Linked DNA regions of Homo sapiens: all the other regions are linked to region 1. The links are contacts of gene promoters, found by promoter capture Hi-C in blood cells and fetal thymus (Javierre and others, 2016). All regions are on one chromosome and are shown on one strand. The core of a region is centred on a gene start or on the middle of the fragment in contact, and the rest is flanking DNA. Distances in the headings are between cores, read along the strand shown. Region 1 holds the start of SGO1 (shugoshin 1). Region 2 overlaps CRBN (cereblon). Region 3 overlaps TRANK1 (tetratricopeptide repeat and ankyrin repeat containing 1). Region 4 has its middle 1.7 kb from the start of EDEM1.

The links. The method cuts DNA at HindIII sites, captures the fragments that hold promoters and counts their contacts. A CHiCAGO score of 5 or more calls a contact.
Region 2: a fragment that was not itself captured here is called in contact with the fragment with the promoter of SGO1 in region 1 in 1 of 17 cell types (activated CD4 T cells); the score reaches 5.8 in activated CD4 T cells.
Region 3: a contact is called between a fragment that was not itself captured here and the fragment with the promoter of SGO1 in region 1, in 1 of 17 cell types (total CD4 T cells). The highest score is 6.3, in total CD4 T cells.
Region 4: a contact is called between a fragment that was not itself captured here and the fragment with the promoter of SGO1 in region 1, in 2 of 17 cell types (non-activated CD4 T cells and naive CD8 T cells). The highest score is 7.6, in non-activated CD4 T cells.

Annotation. Positions count from the first base shown.
Region 1 is chr3:20,184,360-20,187,711 of GRCh38, forward strand. SGO1 (shugoshin 1) reads right to left here and starts at 1,847. Exons shown (of 8, transcript NM_001199251.3): 1 at 1,589-1,847. It overlaps SGO1-AS1 (SGO1 antisense RNA 1), which reads left to right. Exons shown (of 4, transcript NR_132785.1): 4 at 1,616-1,756. RefSeq lists enhancers at 1,565-2,244, 2,265-2,324. The HindIII fragment of the contact is 754 bases long and covers 1,371-2,124 here.
Region 2 is chr3:3,173,644-3,176,995 of GRCh38, forward strand. It overlaps CRBN (cereblon), which reads right to left. Exons shown (of 11, transcript NM_016302.4): 2 at 1,520-1,626; 3 at 416-618. Among named protein-coding and RNA genes, the nearest start is that of CRBN, 4.4 kb to the right of the region's middle. The HindIII fragment of the contact is 626 bases long and covers 1,352-1,977 here.
Region 3 is chr3:36,903,183-36,906,534 of GRCh38, forward strand. TRANK1 (tetratricopeptide repeat and ankyrin repeat containing 1) reads right to left here. Exons shown (of 24, transcript NM_001329998.2): 3 at 1-93. Among named protein-coding and RNA genes, the nearest start is that of TRANK1, 40 kb to the right of the region's middle. The HindIII fragment of the contact is 3,946 bases long and covers 1-3,352 here.
Region 4 is chr3:5,184,283-5,187,634 of GRCh38, forward strand. No RefSeq gene overlaps it. Among named protein-coding and RNA genes, the nearest start is that of EDEM1, 1.7 kb to the right of the region's middle. RefSeq lists an enhancer at 1,883-1,942 and a silencer at 3,054-3,352. The HindIII fragment of the contact is 678 bases long and covers 1,537-2,214 here.

The sequences.
Region 1 (3,352 bases), core at 597-3,096:
TTATTATATTTTGATGCATTATTTACACTTTTTATAGAAAATGTTTAGGACCAACTTTTACTGCTTAAGCTTACAGCATTAGTTCTGAGGCAATTATATATTTGGGTTTTGTTTTCCAGCTCTTCTCTAATGATTAATTCATCAGATTAGGTCATTCAACTATTTTTCCATACTCTTTAAACGCAATTATCACTTATGATATGCACACAGTCTCAAGAAAGTCAAGGTACTCCTTAGAGGTTTAAACTATGTAGCACTACATACAATTTTAATAGGCTATTGTAACAAGTACAGAGCTAGAGCAGGAACTTGGGCAGAGGAACACTCTAGTATTCTCAAACTGTGGCTAAAAGTTAGGGCTGTTAACTCCCAGTAAATTATGAACATAACAAATCAGACATTAAATATTGTTGTACATACAGTTAAACGTTGAGTATTAAATACATAACTATACTTAATCTTTCAACGTTGCAAATCAGGTAGGCTTTAGCATGCTACTAAACATGTCAAACCACTTTTCACAAACATCTTTTACGCTAGATTGCACTTTGCAGATCTTAAAATTGCAAAAAAAAAAGACTTGTTTCCAATAACAATCTATGCACAGAATTTTCACTACAAAGGATATCTTCATCTCCTCTACGATAGTCAAATATTTTCCTAAACCTTACACTTAATCTTGAGTATTTCCTCCAGGCCTTATTTTCCTCTATGCAGTGTCTGGAATCTTAAATATAGGTATTGTAGATACCACTTAAGAACTTTCTTTCTACCAAGGTATATACAATATGTACTGGGAGGTTCCTAGCAGAGATAGGGTAGCTATTTTTAAAAGCACGAACGGTAAAGGGGTTGTTTTACACAATTAAGTTAGAATTGGAGATGTTTGAGAGTCATACAGATTAAGTAACGGATCTAGTTTAGTTAAGGTATTTTAAAGGCAAAGCCTTACCTAAAAAGCTTTCGTTATTACTTTTAATCAAGTTAAAAATCACAAAAGAAACTTGCCATATCAAAAGTTTTATATCCTGTCTAAATAAGGCGATGGTTATTAGCAGGGGGTGTGGTAGACAGAAGGGATGAAAGCAAAGACAGACCACAGCGCGAGATGACGGTCTCAATCTGTACAGTACTCGTGTAAGCGCTCTGGATTTAAAGAACCTAGCATATTTGATCTCCGTCCATAATTCTCCAATTAGTCCTGCTGCGAAGACAGCCAGGTAGGATACTAGTCAGTGCCGGCCTCTCCAGGGTAAGTGAGGAAGAGAATGGCCTGGACAAGGAGGACGTCAACGGTATCACGCTGCACAAAGAACTGCTGTCAATTTTCTTGTGTCCTTACGTTGAGCCAGGCTTTTAGCTATTGTAAAAGCTTTATTTGCACATCACTTAATCTACACAATTTTGCAAAGTAGGAAATTAGGGTCTCCATGGAAGCCGGAACATCTGAAAGCGCAGATCGAGTGGCTGAACGGCGAAAAGCGCGGCGAGTGGGACTCCACGGCCCGAGCTTTCGGCCACCGAATTTAGAATGATACTGAAAACCGAAGGGAAGTCAAACAGGGATCACTACGCCCTTGTTTCGCACCTTAAAACCTACTTCTTCCTCTTTCAGGGACTCCAGGAAGGCCGGGGGGAGGTGGGGCTGGCGGAAGTGGACGCGGCGACCCTCCTGCCGCAGGCGCGTCCAGAACGATACCTTGGCCACTACTTCTGCAACAGCTATCTTCCTCCTCCTCACATTTCAAGGCTCTTCGAAGCTCTCCAGCCACGGCTAGCCCCGCGCACTGGGCCCTCCAGGACCGTACCACCGTCCGCCGTCGCCTGGAACTACCGCCGCCACATTCGAAATTTTCCGCCTCGCTCCTCCATTGGTTGGCTGGGAGGCGGTCACGTGGCGCAGGATGCACCCAACACCACCGTCGCAGGCAGAGTCCCGCCCCGCCAGGCGACGTCACGTGACGCACATTCGCTCAAGTCCACATCCGGGCATCCACCTGGCCCTGGGGCGGAGCCTGCGGTCGGGTCTCGGCGACCCGCCGGGACTTTCTAATCAGAGTCGTGGGGATTTTACGGGTGGAGTTACTCCGAAACCTTTAAGGCCGAGTGTGATAGGTAGTTCAAAGCTTCCTGTTTCTTCAGTCTGACAGCTTCAAATGTCCCGGGTTGTGCTCAAAGCCTCCCTCTTGTGAGAAGAATCTCTTTGGTTGCCTGTTAAAGCGGTCAGCCAGCTTGCAACACGGAAGCAGCTTTTAGAGGAATTAAAACCAAAACAAGGAGCAAATTCTGGATTAAAAAGGTATTAGGGAAACTGCAGATACCTGAAAATTCTAGCTCCATGTTTCTCTTTGCCGGCTATCTCTGGCTCTTTAACTCTTCTCGAGAAATGGCACCAACATCCATCCAGTTACCGACTAGAAGCCTGAGAAATCGTCCTTAATGATTATTTATCCTCTCTTAACCTTTGCCCGTCCAGTCGGTCACACGATCTTCTCAACTCTGCTTTCCAAGTTTCTCTCATGCCCATCTTTTTCCCCCCAATCCAGCTTCCAGCCTAATCTCATTCCCTAAATTGCACTAGTACCCACTCTGACCGCAGACTCCACTCCCTATATTCTTCATAGATTAATATTTTTACAAAACAAGTATCAAATAGGAAACTTTACAATGGCTCCCTATTGCATTTAAGGTGAATTTCAAACTCCTTTAAGATATTTTGTCCTTAAAGAGCCCCATGATTCCTGGTTCCATCACTTGTACATTTTCTTTAATTTTCTTAAAATTCTTGCCACTTTTGCCAATGCTGTTCTGTCAAGAACACTCTTTCCCTTGGCCGAACTTACTCCTATGTATACTGAAGTTTCACTGTACAGATGAATTCTTCCAGAAAGACTTATCTACCCCTAAAGCCCCTGAGTGTCTGCTTTACACTTTCTTAGTGCCCTGCATTTTCCCCTTGGTATTCCTTGTGACACTGACTTGTCGTTCATTGCCTGTTTCTTGAAGTTGAATAAGGGCAGGAACTACATCTGCTTTGTTCATAGCTAAATTGTCAGCATCTCGTTGCAATTTGAAGTAAGTAGTAAATATTCACTGGGACAATAAAGGAACAAATAAATGAAAACGAAACAAATGTTTTGAATCTAGGCATTCTTTATGAAGGTGTGTTGTTGTTTTTTAAAGGTAGCTAACACATGCTTGCTCTAGTCTGGGTACCCATCCTGGCTTGAGTGGAAGAGGCTGAAACACCCTTCTCCAGCCAACAACTCCCTCGTTTTCCAAGTTAACCAGACCAACTCCATTAACCCTCAGTTTACTGCCACTGGGCAATGTGGCTTATATGTGTAGAAGC
Region 2 (3,352 bases), core at 415-2,914, about 17 Mb before region 1:
AATTTAAAGTGGTACAACCTATGAATTTTGAGAGAGAGGGAAAGAAAAGACCACTCTTTTGGAAAAGTAATCCTTTACGTTAAAATAAAAAAGCACTACTTCTCTATAATGAAGACAGTTATTGAAACTAAGATTCCAGAAATGTTTTTCATCAAATATAAATGATTAAAAATTTTTCAAATACCAGAAAGTTAAATTGTGTATGAAGGTGAAGAGCTGAGTTAGATGGTAATGAAATGAACAAAAATACTCCAACTTGCACTATCAAACTTCTACTTAACCAAATTCCTAACCTCACATTCTTACCCAACCTCTCCTGTACATGCGAAATAACAGCCTGCTTTGGCTTCAACACTGACCACTGCAATTACCCATGAGAGGGAATGTATTAAGCAAATGGACTCTAATATTTTACCTGTATGCAAGAACAGCAAAGGTTCTATCTTTCTGAATTAAATTCCGCACCATACTGACTTCTTGAGGGTGAAAAAGCTGAAGAGGTAATGTCTGTCCGGGAATCAGGATCATCATCACTTGTGGAAGAACTGGAATCACCTGACAGCTGTCGTCATCGTGCAAAGTCCTGCCATGAAATTCTTCCATATCAGCACCTAGGTACTATATAAAAACATATATAGGTATAGTGTCATGATCGATATGTAATAAAAATGTAAGCTCAACAGACTAAAGAGCAAATCACATTAAAAGAAATACAGGCCGGGCACAGTGGCTCACACCTGTAATTCCAGCACTTTGGGAGGCCGAGGTAGGCGGATCACCTGAGGTCAGGAGTTCAAGACCAACCTGGCCAACATGGTGGAACCCTGTTGCTACTAAAAATACAAAAATTAGCCAGGTGTGGTGGTGGACACCTGTAATCCCAGCTAATCGGGAGGCTGAGGCAGGGGAATCACTTGAACCTGGAAGGTGGAGGCTGCAGTGAGCTGAGATTGTGCCACTGCACTCACTCGAGCTTGGGCGACAGAGCAACACTCTGTCTCAAAAAAAAAGAAAAAAATACAAATGGGGTTACAAACACTTAATAAACGTGGTATATAAGCATCCCATGTTAAAATATAATTTTTAATCTAACTTTAACTCTTAGAAGAATTTCTAATCTTTTATGAATATATCACAAACACAGAAATTCAAGAATTTTTTTAGTACAAAGTATTATTTTTACCAAGAAATATCTCTATGCCCACATATCACAAACAGTAAGTATAAAATGTTAGTATGTTCAATAACACTCTAGTACCTAGAAGTACAGAGAAGTATTTAATAGCTCAATTACCAGAAAGAGTATAAAGAGCAACAATTCCTCAAACAATTCTACCACAACATAGTATTAAGCTTCTTAAAAATTACAGTTAAATGTTTATCTACTGGCAAATAGCCCATGTCCTCATCCACAATTTCTGATATCTAGTAATACAAATATCAGTCACTTGTTTTTATGAACTTTTATCTACATTTAAATGTATATCTATTATATTAGATCTGTCACTAAATTACATACTGTATGTGATGTCGGCAGACTGGTGTCAAAATTTATGATGTTTGGTTTTTTGGCTTCTTTACTATCCTGGTCTTCAACTTCCATTTCATCTTCTTCCTCACTCTCTGCTATAAAAGTAGAATATTGTAAGAAAAAAAAAAAGATGAATGAAAACCTTTCAAACATGTAATTCCTTCTTCAAAAGAGGGGTACTTCTAAAACCACATGCATTTGGTAAACTCTACAGCACCGTGAAGAGGGAGCCAGAGGACTGGGGTCCGTGCTGGGCTCTGTCAGTAGCTATTTTTTTTTTTTAAGTCAACTGTGAATTTTAGAATAGTTTAACATTTACAGAGAAGTGTAAAGATAGTACAGAATGCTCCCGTGTGTCACACATCCTTTTCCCCTATAGTTAATTTATATTAGTATGGTACATTTGCCACAACGAAGGAATCAGTCTTGGTACATTACTCTAACTAAGCTTCATATTTTAAATGGATTCCCTTAGTTTTTATCTAGTCTTTTTGCGTTCCAGGATCCCACTTTACATTTAGTTATCAGGTCCCCCTACCCTCCTCTGGGCTAGGGGGGTTTTCAGACTTTGCTTGTTTCTGAGTTTTGAGGAGTACTGGTCAGGCCTTTTGTAGAGTATCCCTCAACTGGGTTTTGTTTGATGTAATTCCCATGATTAGACTGAGGATACGTGTTTTAGGGAGGAAGACCACAGAAGTGAAGTGTTGTTATTCTTTTCCTTTTTAGAAATGGGGTCTGTTGCCAATGTGCTGTTTTTATTACATATCCAGCCTATATATTATGAACTATTCCTGCTGTTAACCTTGATCACCTGGCTACAGCAGTGTGTGTCAGGTTTTTCCGCTGTAAAGTTCCTTTCCCCCCTCCTTTTCACATTGTACCCTTCGGAAGCAAATCACTAGGTGTAGCCTCCACTTCAGGGGTGATGAGTTATGCTCCACTCCCTTGAAGAGGAAATGTAAGTTATTTAAAATTCTTCTATATGGGAGATTTTTCTCTTCTCCCTCACCAGTAACTAATTTTAACACCTTAGACAACTCATTCTGCCCAATTAAATTTTAGTTTCCTCATCTGCAAAATGATAGGCTTCAACAAGTCAACCTCTAACGTTCTCTCAAACTCTCAACTTCAATCAGTTCCTACATAAGTAAGAAAAGAAACAAAGCAGGCAAGATCTGTTAATTAAAACTGAGAGAAAGATAACCTAGCAGGAAGAATTTCACAGCATTTTTCTAGTGACAACATTTCCCTGGCAGTCGCTACATTATCTTAAAATGAAGGCCAGGTGTGGTGGCTCACACCTGTAATCCCAGCACTTTGGGAGGACGAGGCAGGCAGATCACTTGAGGTCAGGAGTTCAAGACCAGCCTGGCCAACATGTTGCAACCCCATCTCTACTAAAAACACAAAAGTTAGCCGGGTGTGGTTGTAGGTGCCTGTAATCCCAGCTACTGGGGAGGCTGAGGCAGGAGAATCGCTTGAACCCAGGAGGTGGAGGTTGCAGTGAGCTGAGATTGTGCTATTGCACTCCAGCCTGGGCGACAGAGCAAGACTCCATCTCAAAAGAAAGAAACAAAGAAAATTTTGCAATCATTTGCATACTATTTTGCTTAATTTTAAATTTAAAAATAAAGTTTGCATGAAGCATAAAACATTTTAAAAGAATGTCTTAGAAAACCAGATGTTACCAATGACAGCAAAGAAAATTAGAAAACGCTACACAATACATATGCTATTGTACTAACTGTGAGTCTGTCCTTTTCATACAAACTATGAGTAAATTTCCTATCCTAGACCAGTGACTCTCAACCACAGGTGATT
Region 3 (3,352 bases), core at 267-2,766, about 17 Mb after region 1:
TTGGCAGCAACAAATGCCTCATTCCACTTCCCAAGGCTGAAAAATGCATTTGATTTGTTGCACAGCAGCACAGCCAAGTCCCTCGGGGGAACCCTGTAAGAACAAACCGGTGGTCTGTCATGGTTCTGCAAATACAGAAAACAGTCTGTGAAGTCCCCCCATTCGGTGCTGGCTGCTGCCATCAGGAAGGGGGTTTCAGTAGGAAATGACTCATTCATGCTTATCAGATCAGTCTCCCAGACCCCAAACGAGCCTGGAACATTTACAATATATAAATCTGTCCTTCCTCACTCCCAAATACTCTGCTCCCGTCTTTTAATGACAATTGTTCTCAACAGGTTGGTTCCATCTCTCACTGATCTCCACGCATAATCATTTCATCTCCATTGCCAGCCCTCAGAAGAATCGGCTTCAGGTAAGAGGCCTGTGCAGGCCCTGGGAGCAGGGCCTATAAGGCAGGGAATTCCATAGTCTTGGTACCCACAGTGTAGACCAAAGGGGATGCAAGAACTCTGGGTGAGTACGGCCCTGGCCCCACAGACTCCTGCCTGTGAGGAGGGGCACAGCTGGAAGATGGCCAAAGGAGGGCCCTTTAAAGCGCAGCAGGGCAGGGATGGCTCTGGCCTTGGTCTAGAGGTAATATAGCTGCAAGTTAATGCTGAAACCAGGCCAGAAGAAAAAGGAAAATTCAAAGCAAACCACAATATGTCAAGAGAAGCCCAGCTACCAATGGAATATAAGACACACAAATAAAAAAAGCAAGCCTTATGACTTCTTTTTTATTTAATATCTTTGAGACAGAGTCTCACTCTGTCGCCCAAGCTGGAATGCAGTGGTGCAATCTCAGCTCACTGCAACCTCCACCTCCTGGGTTCAAGCACTTCTGCCTCAGCCTCCCGAGTAGCTGGGATTACAGGTGCACACCACCACACCCGGCTAATTTTTGTATTTCTAGTAGAGATGGGGTTTCACCATGTTGGCCAGGATGGTCTCGAATTCCTGACCTCGTGATCCGCCTGCCTCAGCTTCCCAAAGTGCTGGGATTACATAATTAAGATATTAAATAGGCCAGGCGCAGTGGCTCATGCCTGTAATCGCAGCACTTCGGGAGGCCGAGGCCGAGGCGAGGAGTTCGAGACCATCCTGGCCAACATGGTGAAACCCCATCTCTACTAAAATACAAAAAAATTATCTGGGTGTGGTGGGGTGCACCTGTAGTCCCAGCTACATGGCAGGCTGAGGCAGGAGAATCGTTTGAACCCAGGAGGAGGAGATTTCAGTGAGCCAAGATCGCACCACTGCACTCCAGCCTGGCAACACAGCAAGACTCCGTCTCAAAAAAAGAAAAAAAAAAATCTTAATCGTAAAAATAATACAAATCACTGTAGAATAATACAAAAATCACTGTAGATAATGCAGACAAGCACAAAAATATTAATAAACAAAGGAAAAATCACCTCCATTACTGTCCCCACCCTCGATGTTTTGTGTCTGGCTTCTTTCATGGCCCAACATTCCCTCTAGGTGAAGGGATGAGGCCCCAGAAGCACACAGGAGGCAGTGGGGTCAGGCAGTGAGGGATCAGCAAGGGAGCAGTGACCGCAAGTGTAAGAGATGCCATGGTGTCCATCCCAGACACTCTGGCCAGTGCAGCCATTCCCAGCTGCAATGTCTGTTGGCTGCAGCTAGAGGTTCTCAGCACCCTGTTCTCCAGAGATTTATCCTCAGCCTAATGAGAGCTACCCTCTCCCCAGGAAGTTACACCCATACTAGGGACTGAACTTCCCCCATCCCCAACTGCCAAAAAAAAAAAAATCCCTGGGTAGGCCGGGCACAGTGGCTCATGCCTGTAATCCCAGCACTTTAGGAGGCCGAGCGGGCGGATCACGAGGTCAGGAGATCGAGACCATCCCGGCTAACACGGTGAAACCCCATCTCTACTAAAAATACAAAAAATTAGCCGGGCGTGGTGGCAGGTGCCTGTAGTCCCAGCTACTCGGGAGGCTGAGGCAGGAGAATGGCGTGAACCCGGGAGGCGGCGGAGCTTGCAGTGAGCCGAGATCGTGCCGTTGCACTCTAGCCTGGGAGACAGAGCAAGACTCTGTCTCAAAAAAAAAAAAAAAAATCCCTGGGTTGAAGCCCTACCCCTCAATGTGACAATATTTGAACATGGAACCATTGGGAGGTAATTATGTTTAGCTGAGGTCATGAGGGTGGAGTCCTCACAATGGAATAAGAAGAGACGCTGGAGAGCTTGCTCTCTCCTCTTTGCACGTAACACAGTGAGAAGGCAACCATCTACAAGCCAGGAAGACAGCCCTCACAGGGGGCAGCTTGATCTTGGACTTCCCAGCCTGTAGAACTTTGAAAAATAAATTTCTGTTGTTTAAGCCACCCAGTCTGTGCTATTTTGTTATGGTAGCGCAAGCAGACTAATATAGCCCACTCCCTAGGATGACTGCCGGGAGCCAGACAGCCTAAAACCAGTGACTGACTGATATGAGAATCAAAAGGTTAACCTCCTTGCCTCAAGATGGAACCAGCTCTGCAGTATGATTCATGCTCCAGAGCTGCCTATGGGATCAGGCAAATCTTGCTTGGTTTAGACACCATCCCTGCTTAGAGCCTTCCTTGTGCCATCCTGCCTCCCTCAGTCCCCTTTCTCCTGCAAGTACGCTGTAAATCACATGCACCTGAGTCTCAGTGTTAGCTAGCTGTGGCAGGAAGGCCAGCAGCAGGTGATGGGCAAGGGGAACAGTGTCAGGAAGGTCCCACAAAAGGCAACATGAGGGTCCAGGCAGAAGTCCCAGTAGGGGTCACACAGTAAGTGGTGGAGCTGAGCTTTGAACACACATAGTGTGGGGTCAGTCTACAACCATAAACACTACACAATACTACCTCTTTCTAAGAAAGCTGAATGTTTGCCTTGATCGAGGATCTCTAGACCCAGCTCTGACACAATTCTGATATGTACCAGGACAAGGCAGAACTGCAGAAACTACAGACACAAGCTAATTACACTCAACTCAACCTCAACTAGAGTGTAGACATCAAGGAGATGGGAGGGGGAGGTGGAGCCGTGTTTCAGTAATTTAATTTGGTGCCATTTCCTAGCACAAGTTTAGGTTGTGTGCACCCTACAGATGCCAACATCTGCTCGCTCTACTGCAGCTGTTCCAAAAGGATGATCTGGGAACTTCTGGGGACCCTCAAGGCCACTGCAGGTGATCCACAAGGTGAAAATACTTTCACAGTTGTGGTAAGCTGAATAATGGCCCCCAAATACTGTTCTTTTTATGGAAAAAGACAAACTTTTGTGATTAACAAATGATGTAGCAGATGTGATCAATTT
Region 4 (3,352 bases), core at 626-3,125, about 15 Mb before region 1:
TCAGTTATTTTTCATTGTTTTGTTTCCTTGCTCTCATCTTACAAAACCCACTATTCTGCTGTTTCTCATTGGGAGCTTTCATTCTGTTTTGTAGAATGGAGGCTGCCCCATTCATAAGTTATGAATAAACGCCAGTTAGATCTGTAAGTAAATTTGTTGTAATTTTTTTCTGACACTAGGAATTGCCAAATGACCCTTCACACGGGAAGTACTAGTTTTTGTTTTTACCAGTCCCAGTCCCCTATGCCTTTTTAAAAAAGAGATGAAGTCTCACTGTTACCCAGGTAATTGCATTGGCTATTTACAGCCACGATCATAGGAAACGCAGCTTCAAACTACTGGCTCAGGGGATCTTCCTGCCTCAGCCTCTCGAGTATCCTGTATCTTGCTAACAGAGCATGTTGACAAACTTGGATTTGTGCCCATCAAATAAGTTTGAACTGTAATTATATACTTTTTTTTAGGCCTTCAGCTTTGCAAAACCTCTGCTTTTGAAATACTTTTTTTTTTTTGAGACGCAGTCTCACTCTCTTGCCCAGAATGGAGTGTGGTGGCGCTATCTCAGCTCACTGCAACCTCTGCCTCCTGGATTCAAGTGATTCTCGTGCCTCAGCCTCCTGAGTATCTGGGATTACAGACGCCCACCACCACGCCCGGGTAGTTGTATTTTTAGTAGAGATGGGGTTTCATCATTTTGGCCAGGTTGGTCTTGAACTCCGGACCTTAAGTGATCTGCCTGCCTTGGCCTCCCAAAGTTCTGGGATTACAGGTGTGAGCCACCACGCCCAGCCGGGTGCTAGTTTTAAAAGTTTCAGAGTTGAAAAGTATTAATAGGTCTCACTATGTAGCACGGTTGTAAGTACTTTATATATATATATGATGTAATCACAACTGTGATAAACATTGTCCTCATCACTCACCCATTTTATGGATGAGGAAACAAGTCCTAGAAAAGTAACTTCCCAAGGTCACTCTTAGGGCAGAGCTACGATTTGAACACCTGACTTCTGAATGTGAGTTCTTAGTTGTCATCTCTTTGCATTCCCCAGAGTAAAGCCATTTTTACACTGAAAAAGTGCCTCCTTTCCTTTTTTATCAGTCCCTGATGCGCTTGTGAGATTACCGGAAAACCTGTCACAAATCAAACTGTTTATCTTAAAGAGTTGATTTTCAAGACTGGAGTTTTCTGATTGGGTATGGGTGTTGTCCCAATCTTATCAGTACATTTAGCTTAAGGAGAGTCCTAATCGAAAGGACTAGCACAAAATAACCCATTTCTTTCATTTCAGTTTCATTCCAGAAGGAAACACTTTCTGAACCTAGACCCTAATGCCTAGGCTATGCCTTGCAGGGCACTAATGTCAAAACTATTGCTTTTGGGTGGCTTGGAAAGAGCAGAGGGACCTGTCTGCTCAAGGGCCAGCTATTTGAAGTGCAAATTGCCCTAAAGTGTAGTAACTCCCTTTCTGCCTAGAGCCAACAGGCTCTGAGAATTGAGCCCCCAACCTGATTTCTTCCATTATGGCTTGTGGAATAAGCTTTACAGTTTTCTATGAAGATTAAATAAGCACACATGTCAAAGTGTTTTGAAAACCATCAGTTTTACTATGAAAAGCATCTTTCAGGAGTTGGATGGTTTTCTCTGGTTATTAAAAGATTTATTTTTATAAGAGTTTTTCTCTAACATCAAGACAGAAGCTGTCCTCAATGTGGCCTGCAGTTAACCAGGTCAAATTTAAGTTAAAATTTGCAATAAAGTAGCCCCGGAAGGAAACATGCAACATGCAACTGAATATTCACATTCAGTTTGCAAGTTCCAGGAAGGCAGAAGTTCAGGATCAAGGGCTGGAGCTGGGCTGCCAGCACAGTCCCTAGGCATCCTTCACAGAGGGGAAAAAGCAGAAGCTGTGTAGTCTAAAGACCCTGGCTCAAGCTGTCTTCGTAATCTTTTTGCTGCTTGGGCTGCTCTCGATGTCTCAATGTTGGGAAAGAACAAGGCTCAGCCAACAGTAAGGACCTTCCTATGTGCCAGCTACCATGTGCTGTAATCAAGTGTTTTCTTAGTTCCCCTTACACCTCCTCTGTATTTCAGAAAGTCCTCTACCCTGAAAATGTGATGAGAGTGCCACATGACAACTTACCTTCTTATGCACTCCATTGGTCGGCCATTCAGCCAATATCAGATTTGGGGGTCTAGTCAGGTCTTGCTTCCCAAGCTTTTCAGAAACCCTGATGAAACAGGCATAGGGTCTAAACTTAGGGAGGGCAAAACTTACAGCCAACTCCAAATGCAGCAAGCAAAATAAATAAGCGCCTAAACCATTGAATCTTTATGTGAAAGCCATAGCCCTTTAGAGCTAACATTTGCAATCTTCTTAATTATAGGAAGTAGATACAGAGGGGTAAAGTTATTTAACTGGGAATCTACCCCACACCTCAAAGGTTAGGTCACTAATTGCGGGTGCACAGGAGAGATGGTAGGATGGGAGGGACAGGAGAAGACATGTTTAGATATATCTGGTAAATAATTTGGTGGTGGTGGGAGCCTTCATTCCCACCCCCAACCCGCCCCCCCCTTTTAAAAAAATCCTATTTCCGAGACAAAAGCAATATAACATAACTTTGTATTTCCTGAAACTTCCAGTTTCTAAGAACTGTCCAAGAGTACTTACACGCACATTCCCGAGACCGTTGGAGTTGTTCGATAGGTCTAGGGAGGGATCTGGGGATACGTGTTTTACAAGCACCATGAGCGATTCTTCAAAGTTGGGTGTTTGAATCAAAAGAGCAGAATTCATGATACCGTTTTGTGCACTCCTTGAGCTAAAAGGTAGTATCCCACCCTCTCCATAAACAGACACCTAAGTTATAAAACTTATGCGCTCGATATGCAAAAATAGCTCGTTTTATACAGAAACGATCCTTTCCTTCTTTTCCTTATATATCTTTTAACTGTCATCACTCCTAACCTAGACCTAGAGTGGCTTTTTCCGGTCCTAGCTCTGCCGGACACACGCTCTGCCCAGAGACCCGATCCACCCAAGGCCAGGCGGTCTGGGGTCACGTCTGTGTCCAGCGTCCGGCGGGCGCTGCCGTGCCGCTCTCCCATTGGCTGGAAGTTCCCTCGCGGGCCGGCGCGGCTCCTGCTCGCCACGCCAGCCCATCGGGCTACGGACCGCCCAGGGGGGCGGGGCTTGGGAGTTGGGGCGGGGCCCGGGTGAGGGGCGGGGCCTCGGGGCGTCGCGGACGTCCTGGCGGCCTACTGCGTGGGAGGGAGTCCTGGGCCGCGCCCCGCGAGGCCGGGCCCAGGCCGGGCCAATCCCGGGCCACTGGGCGGGCGACCGTGGGGCCT